Linked DNA regions of Homo sapiens: all the other regions are linked to region 3. The links are contacts of gene promoters, found by promoter capture Hi-C in blood cells and fetal thymus (Javierre and others, 2016). All regions are on one chromosome and are shown on one strand. Each heading gives the region's core, a stretch centred on a gene start or on the middle of the fragment in contact. The rest is flanking DNA. Distances are from core to core; before and after follow the strand shown.

Region 1 (2,700 bases), core at 144-2,643, 150 kb before region 3:
GCCAACATCACACTAAATAGCCAAAAACTGGAACAAGACAAGGATGCCCACTCTCACCACTCCTATCCAACATAGTACTGAAAGTGCTAGCCAAAGCAATCAGGCAAGAGAAAGAAAGAAAGGAAACACATCCAAATAGGAAAAGAAGTCAAACTATCTCTTTTTGTAGATGACAGGATTCTGTACCTAGAAAACCCCAAAGACTCTGCCAAAAGGCTGCTGGAACTGATAAATGGCTTCAGTAAAGTTTCAGGATGCAAAGTCAATGTAAAAAAATTATTAGCATTTCTACACATCAATAACATTCAAGTTGAGGGCCAAATCAAGAATGCAATCTCATTTGTAATAGCCACAGAAAAACAAAATACCTATGAACACATCTAACCAAGGAGGCAAAAGATCTCTATAAGGAGAACTACAAAACAAATCATAGATGACACAAACACATAGAAAAACATTCCATGGTCATGTATCAGAAGAATCAGTATCATTAAAATGGCCATACTGCCCAAAGCTATCTGCAGATTCAGTGCTATTCCCAACAAGCTATCAATGTCATTTTTCACACAACTAGGAAGCTTTTCTAAAATTCATATGGAACGAAAAAGAGCCTGAATAGCCAAAGCAATCCTACGCAAAAGGAATAAAGCTGGAGGCATCACATTATCCACCTTCAAACTATACTATAGGGCTACAATAACCAAAACAGCATGGTACTGGTACAAAAACAGACAATAAGCCAATGGAACAGAATAAAAAAACCCAGCAATAAAGCTGCACACCTACAGCCCTCCGATCTTCAACAAAATTGACAAAAATAAGCAGTGGGGAGAAGACTTCCTATTCAATAAATGGTGCTGGGATACCTGGCTAGCCATACGCAGAAGAATGAAACTGGATCCCTATTTTTTTTATCATATACAAAAATTAACTTAAGATGGATTAAAGATTTAAAGGTAAGACCTCAAACTATAAGAATCCTAGAAGAAAACCTAGGAAACACCATTCTGCACATGGGCCTTAGGAAAGAATTTATGACTAAGTCCTCAAAAGCAATTGCAACAAAAACAAAAATTGACAAGTGGGATATAATTAAAGAAAGAAACTATCGACAGAGTAAACAAACAGCCTACAGAATGGGAGAAAAATTTGCAAACTATGCATTTGGCAAAAGTCTAATATCTAGAATCTACAAGGAATTTACACAATTAAACAAGCAAAAAAACAAATAATCCCATTAAAAATAGGCAAAAGACATAAACAGACACTTCTCAAAAGTAAACATGTAAGCGGCCAACAAACATATGAAAAAATACTCCGTATTACAAATCATCAGAGAAATGCAAATCAAAGTCACAGATATTATCTCATACCATGCAGAATGGCTATTATTAAAAGTCAAAAACAACAAATGTTGGGAAGGCTGTGGGGAGAAGGGAACACTTATACACTGTTGATGGGAATGTAAATTAATTCAGCCACCATGGAAAGTGGTTTGGAGATTTCTCAAAGAACTTAGAACTATTATTTAACCCAACAATCTAATTACTGATTATATATCCAAAAGAAAACTAATCATTCTACCGAAAAGACACATGTACTCATGTGTTCCTCATAGCACTATTCACAGTATCCAAGAAATGGAATCAAGCTAGGTGCCCAGTGGTGGACTAGACAAAGAAAATGTGGTACATATATGCCATGAAATACTATGCAGCTATAACAAAATAATGAAATCATGTCTTTTGCGATATTATAGATGCAGCTGGAGGGCATTATCCTAAGCAAATTAACACAGGAGCAGAAAGCCAGATACTGCATATTTCCCATTTATAAGTGGGAGCTAAACACTGGATACTTGTGCACATAAAGATGGCAACAATATAAACTGGGGAGTACTAGAGGAGGCAGGGAGGGGAGAAGGGTTGAAAAATGAACTGTTGGATATTATGCTCAGTACTTGGGTGACAGGATCATTCATACCCCAAACCTTAGGATCACACAACATACCCAGGTAACAAACCTGCATATGTATCCGCTGAATCTAAAATAAAAGCTGAAAATAATAATAATGATGATAAATAAAAATTAAATAACCACACAGAAAAAATAATTGATTCAAATACATTTTGATATCAGGACTCTGGCTGACTATCCCTCAGTGGAATATATTCTAAGAAGAAGACTTTCAAAGGCAGCTAAAGCTTTATGTGGTATATTTATTGGTTTTTAGGAATGGTAGTATTTAATTTTAAACTGTTATATGACTATTATAATGATAAAGCAAATAGTAGGCGTAGTAACATTATTGGGAATCAAGACTTTACTGTAATGGAAAATAAAATTTGAAAATACAGTAAGTTGGCCTGGTGTGGTGGCTCACGCCTACTGGGAGGCCGAGGCGGGTGGATCATGAGGTCAGGAGTTTGAGACCAGCCTGGCCAATATGATGAAACCCGGTCTCTACTAAAAAATGCAAAAATTAGCTGGTTGTGGTGGCATGGACCTGTAGTCCCAGCTACTTGGGAGACTGAGGCAGGATAATTGCTTGAACCCAGGAGGCGGAAGTTGCAGTGAGCTGAGATTGCACTGAGCGAGACTCTGTCTCAAAAAAAAAAAAAAAGATAAAAAAAGTTTTACATTAAATTTGAATATATGAGTCTTGAGCACATATATTTCCTTGCTTTGCCCACTTGAATG
Region 2 (2,700 bases), core at 170-2,669, 180 kb after region 3:
GGCGGGAGCTTGTGCAGATGTAAGGGAAAACCAGAGAGAAAATTACTGTAAAAAATATCTTTGTTAAGTAGCAAAACCAGCAGCTGGACCAGATTAGCTGTTCCCTTCTCTTTCCTATTTTTGGACTTGGAAAGAAAATGTGCAAAATAATTCCCCTTTTGGAGAAAAGTAGAGAAGAAAGTTGGGGGGTAGGTTGTGGGGAGATGAGGCTGTGGACCAGGACAGAGAAGCTGATGAGGGGCTTCATGGCTGGGGGCTCCACTCTTCCCCTGGAGACTGGGGACATCAACACTGCTCTCTCTTCCTCCCCAGAGAATGTTGCGGACTGGGTCTCTGCTCAGTGGCCAAGCAAAGCCTTAGGGACAAGTGCCAAACCTGTGATTCTCACAGGGCGACAGCTGAGGCCAGGCACAGACCAGACAGCAGAAGGAGCTTAACCTGCAGGCCATAGCTGAGGTGCTGGCGGGCAAGAGCAACCCTCCAGCCCACCTGCCATTCCAGTCTCCTTTCCCTGCCAGCAAGTGTGCACTGTTCTGCTCTGATCCTGACTGTTGTCAAAATCTCTCAGAAAAAGCTCCAAGGGAATTCACTCCTGCATGGTGTTAATGACTGCAAAGAAGGAGCATGGGCTTACCTGACATGCAGGTATCTCTAATGGCCACATGGCATATGTCATGTGGCAAACGTGAAAAGCATTTTGGAGGTTATAAAGCCTCAGAACTCCCACACTTCTGGTGGGAATGTAAATTGGTATATACACTGGAAAGCTGTCGGCAGTATTTACTAAAACTCGATGTATGCACACCCTATGATGCAGCAATTCCACTCCTAGGTATATGACTAAGAGAAATAAGTGTGTATATACTCACCAATTACCCACAGCAGAGTGTTCATAATGGCTCCAAATCAAAAACCACCCAAATCCCCATCAGTAGTAGACTGGACACATAATCACTACTATATTCACATAACAAGAATGTATCACCTACAGATACCAGCAGCAATGTGGCTGAATCTCACATATGCAAGTGAGCCAAGGAAGCCAGACCAAAACAAAGATCAAGGGTCTCACTCCATTTCTATAAAGTACAGAATGAGTGAAGCCAGGGAATCCCTGAAGCTGGAATGAGGGTCCACCTTGCAAGGGGATCTTGACTGGGAGAAAGCACAGGGACTTGTTGGGGAGCTGCTTGCAATCTTGGTGCTAGATACAAAGGTGTGTAGAGTTTGTAAAGCTTCAAAGGGCTGTTCTCTTATATGTGCACTTTTTGAATATTTGTTATATTTCAACTGAAAAAGTCTGAATGTCACCAAACACGCCTACACTTTTACCATACGAATAGCTGGGCTTCAACTGGGCCCTAGGTAGAAAGTTGCTCTCTACTGAGCTGAAACTCAGCCCCTGGTTCTACCCTCTGCAGGCCACAGATATGTGGGTCCCTTTTGTACCACATCCCCTCATGCTCGTTTCTGGGCTGCGCATACCCCATTCTCAATTCCCCTCGAAGGCACACAGTCTTTGTTCTAGAACTGCCAGATGTAGAGATGACTCCCCTCTGTAAGAGAGGTCTCAAATGGACTCTTGTCAGCTGATTGAAGCTTTTGTTTGTTTTTATTTTCCTTCATTTCTCATTTGAGACGCTGCTTCAACTTCCAGCCCTCTGCCAAAGGTGGGGATGCTTTGACCAGCCAAGAAGAAATGGACTTCAGTACTATCTCAATTCCTTTGCGTAAAGAGAAGCCCTGGAGGGGCTGGCCCACAACCCACAGCCAATCTCCAAAGGAGGGCCTGGAAACTAATTCATGGGGGAGGAGTTCTGACCACTTTCAGTACTTCCTCTGGGGCAGGCGCTGTCTTACCTCATTGAAACCATTAATGGGCCAGTGCCTCTTCAGTTTCCCATAGATTCAAGGAAGCAAAATTCCTGGACCAGAAGCATCTTTTCACAGGAATGTTATGAACATGGAACAGGGAAAGGGTGCACAGAGCTTAGTGTGACTGCCCTGAGGACTGGGACGGCAGCCGTACTTGGTTAAGCCCATTTGTTTCCCAGAAAAGGGAAAAATAACTATTTCCCTGGGAAGTGTCAGAGAGGTCTTTGTCTCTTGTAATGGTTTCCATGCTCACCATCTTAGGTGCCTTCTTCTGCTAATCTGAATGATTGGATTTCTGAAGTAATAAGAAAAAGTGAGTTCTCATGGCCCATTCTGTGTTAGGCTCAGCCACAAAGTCACTTAAAACATATTTATGCTAACATGGACTTAAAAAAAAAAAAAGACAAACCAGTCTATTTATATAGAAGTCTAGTTAGCAAGAAGAATGAAAACACAGCTATGGCATGTCAATAAAAACACATTTTCCTAGCCAGTTAGGGCAAGGCCTCTCAGTAGAAATTCCACTTTGCTGACTCTTGATTAAAGATTTTGCTTTATAACCACACTGACTGTTTAGACGGAACCAGCTATGTAAGTTGCAGTGCGCAATGCACACTGAAAATGTGGGACTTTTTTTTCCAAATATTGTTATGATCACAAGACAGTGACAGCAAGACACCAAGCTGGGGGACTGTGTGTCTGTACAGATTGTATGCCGTCCGTGTAGCTGGCTCTGGGTTCAGGAAGCCTGTGAGAAAGTTCCTTTAAGATTGGGAAGAAGTCAAGCATGTTGATAATAATTGAGGGCCTGGCCAATGTATAAAA
Region 3 (2,700 bases), core at 160-2,659:
AGGTGGTAGGGTCACTTGAGCCCAGTTCAAGATCACAGTGAGCTGTCACGGTGCCACTGCATTCCAGCCTGAGTGAAGGAGTGAGACCCTGTCTCTTCAAACAAAACAAAAAGACGAGAATCACAGTGTTGCTTGGTAGTGTAGAAAAAGCGTTTATCAACACTGTAGGCCCCTGTCAAGCTTACATTTGGAGTGAGGAGTAAGGAAGGGAAGGGACTTATGCAGGTCTTTCCATGCGGCCTTGATTTAGTCCACGGAGTCCAAAGCCCATTCTGAGGCAGGGTCTCTAGGTTCTTGGTTTACACCTGCAGGCCGATCCACAGACTAGAGGGCAGCTTGTTAGACTTTGGAAACACTTAGATTAGGGGGGAGATGGAAACTCAATCCCAAAGGGACAGTAAAATGAGCCTAAGGTCTGGCGGGACGATAGCTCTTAGCGTGTAAGGAACAACAGAAAAACAAAATAGTGTTTCTGTGGGTGTGCTGGGTGAGGAGGGGAAACAGCCGGAAGAGGGGATCCGAGAAGAACTAAAGGAGCCCACGAAGCATGCAGCTCCTCGGAGGAGCCGGGGATGATCACTGCCCATATCCTCCCGCCACAGCGCAAGCCGCCCGGGCGGTCCCGGCCGGCAGAGGGCAGCAACTGGGCGGGCGACGCCTGGCAAGGGCCGCCCCGCGCTGACCCGCTCGCAGGGATCCTCATTCTGAGCCCGAGGCGAGGGGGACTCGCACCCACTGCCACCTCTCCCTGACCCTCTGGCCACCATGCACCTCGGCCCGGCTGAGGGGAGTCGGGGGGTCGGGGGAGAGGGCGTAGCTGCCGAGAGCCTGGCGCCCCTGCCCGGAGGAGGAGAACGGAGGACGCCCTCCCGGGTCTCCGGAAAGGAAGGGGGACGGGGTTCGGTGGGTCCTGGGACGGGGATGGGAGGGAACGTGGGCGAGCTGGGAGCCGCCCTCCGCAGCCTGGACTTTCCTGGCCTTTCTCTACTCCGAAGCAGCACCGGGCCGCTCCGGTCCCCGCCAGCCCCTGCCAGCTCCGCTTCCGGGGGCCACGACCCTCGCTCGACTTCGGCCGCTGTGCGCCTCCCGCCGACTCTGACCCAGGGACCCGGAGACCAAGTCCGGCTGGCCGAGGCCCGCGGGCCGCGGCGCAAGTTCCGCTCCCACCGTCGAGGACTGTGGAGGCGGCGTGGGCTGGTCTCCGCGGCCGGGGGGCGGGAGCGCCGGGCGGACTTGACCGTGGGCGCCAAGCGTCCCGGCCGCGCGGCGCGGGCTTTATGTAAATGGAGGCTGCGCCGGGCGTCCTAGGTAGGATGGACCAGCCCCCCGCGCCTCGGCCCTCACGTCCAATAAGAAGAGCCCCAGCTTGACACCTGCCTATATACAGGCGAGCGCGCCCCCGGGCCGCGGACCGCGCGCACAGCCCGCACTGCCCCACGCCGCGGGCTAGGGACACCCGGCCCGCCACCATGACTTCCAGCAAGATAGAGATGCCCGGCGAGGTGAAGGCCGACCCCGCCGCCCTCATGGCGTCGCTGCACCTCCTGCCGTCGCCCACGCCCAATCTCGAAATTAAGTACACCAAGGTAAGCGGCCGCCCAGCGCCCGTCGTCCACGGAGACTTTCTAGAACCTTCTTCGGTTTCCCCGATCTCTTCAGCGGGTGAGGGCTGCGGGACGGGGCCGGGGTCGTCGGGGCCAGCCTGTCATCCCGGCGCAGCAGAGGGACCCCCTGCCTGTCTTCGGGACTGGGGCGTTTGAAGCCCCGCCGTGGTCTGAGGACGCCTTGGGGACTTAACCCAACCCGAAGCGCAGCGTTGAGGGGCAGCCGTCAACGGCTCCTGCCCCGGACTCTGAGGCTGGTTTCTGTCCGATTCTCCCGGTCCCGACTGCCGCGGGGGAAGGCGTCGGAACCGCTTAGTATCCTCAGATGGAGGCCGGGGTTCCCCGTCAGCTTGGCCACGCAGCCTGGCCGTCGCCTCTCGGTCCTCCGCCTTCCGGGCCCCTCGGCTGTTGGTCCCAATCAGGTCCTCCACAGCCCGGAGGGTGCTGAGGGGCTTTCCCGTAAGGAATTGTCAAGACACCAGCGCTCTGGCCGGTTTGACAAATTTCACGGAAACCTGACTGATAAGTACAGTAACTCCAACGTCAGCGTTTCATGTGAATTTTGTAGGCAGCGGCAGTTTCCCTGGGAAACTTAAAAAGTTTTAATATTTGTTAGCATGTTCGGTTTTGAACTGAAGAACTTACTTTTTTTTTTTTATAACGAACGTTGACATCTTGGGTTTGCTAAGCAGGATTTTTGTTGTTGCATCGCCTAAAAAAGAATATGCGTCTGCTACCTAATATAAAATGAATTTACTTTCCACAAATTCGACATAGAAAAAAAATGATCGATTACAAACGTAGGGGTATTGTAATGTTACAACATTTTGAGGGAGGTGGTGAGAGAGAGATGGGATTGAAAACCACGTTTCTTGGAGTTCATTTTGTAGTTCTCTGGTTTGATTTTCTAGTCCTTTCGGTACATTTCTACACTCAACTTCTCCCAATTAACGCAAACGCATAGACGCACATGCATATGGTTAAAGGTTGATTAAAGATGTATTCCATCGTGCTTTTTTACAAGATAAATTTTGTAGAGAAGTAAATTGTTTGCATCTGGCTTAGTGGTTGAATGAGATATACAAGAAACAACATC

Evidence for each region. The method cuts DNA at HindIII sites, captures the fragments that hold promoters and counts their contacts. A CHiCAGO score of 5 or more calls a contact.
Region 1: a fragment that was not itself captured here is called in contact with the fragment with the promoter of ALDH1A2 in region 3 in 2 of 17 cell types (M2 macrophages and M0 macrophages); the score reaches 6.1 in M2 macrophages.
Region 2: a fragment that was not itself captured here is called in contact with the fragment with the promoter of ALDH1A2 in region 3 in 1 of 17 cell types (endothelial precursors); the score reaches 6.8 in endothelial precursors.

Annotation. Positions count from the first base shown.
Region 1 is chr15:58,217,692-58,220,391 of GRCh38, reverse strand. No RefSeq gene overlaps it. Among named protein-coding and RNA genes, the nearest start is that of AQP9, 81 kb to the right of the region's middle. The HindIII fragment of the contact is 1,626 bases long and covers 581-2,206 here.
Region 2 is chr15:57,881,255-57,883,954 of GRCh38, reverse strand. No RefSeq gene overlaps it. Among named protein-coding and RNA genes, the nearest start is that of POLR2M, 180 kb to the right of the region's middle. The HindIII fragment of the contact is 364 bases long and covers 1,238-1,601 here.
Region 3 is chr15:58,064,420-58,067,119 of GRCh38, reverse strand. It overlaps ALDH1A2 (aldehyde dehydrogenase 1 family member A2), which reads left to right and starts at 1,409. Exons shown (of 13, transcript NM_003888.4): 1 at 1,409-1,586. The coding sequence starts at 1,470. ALDH1A2-AS1 (ALDH1A2 antisense RNA 1) reads right to left here and starts at 1,895. Exons shown (of 3, transcript NR_147215.1): 1 at 1,378-1,895; 2 at 186-305. RefSeq lists a silencer at 554-743 and enhancers at 1,352-1,871, 1,872-2,391. The HindIII fragment of the contact is 8,256 bases long and covers 183-2,700 here.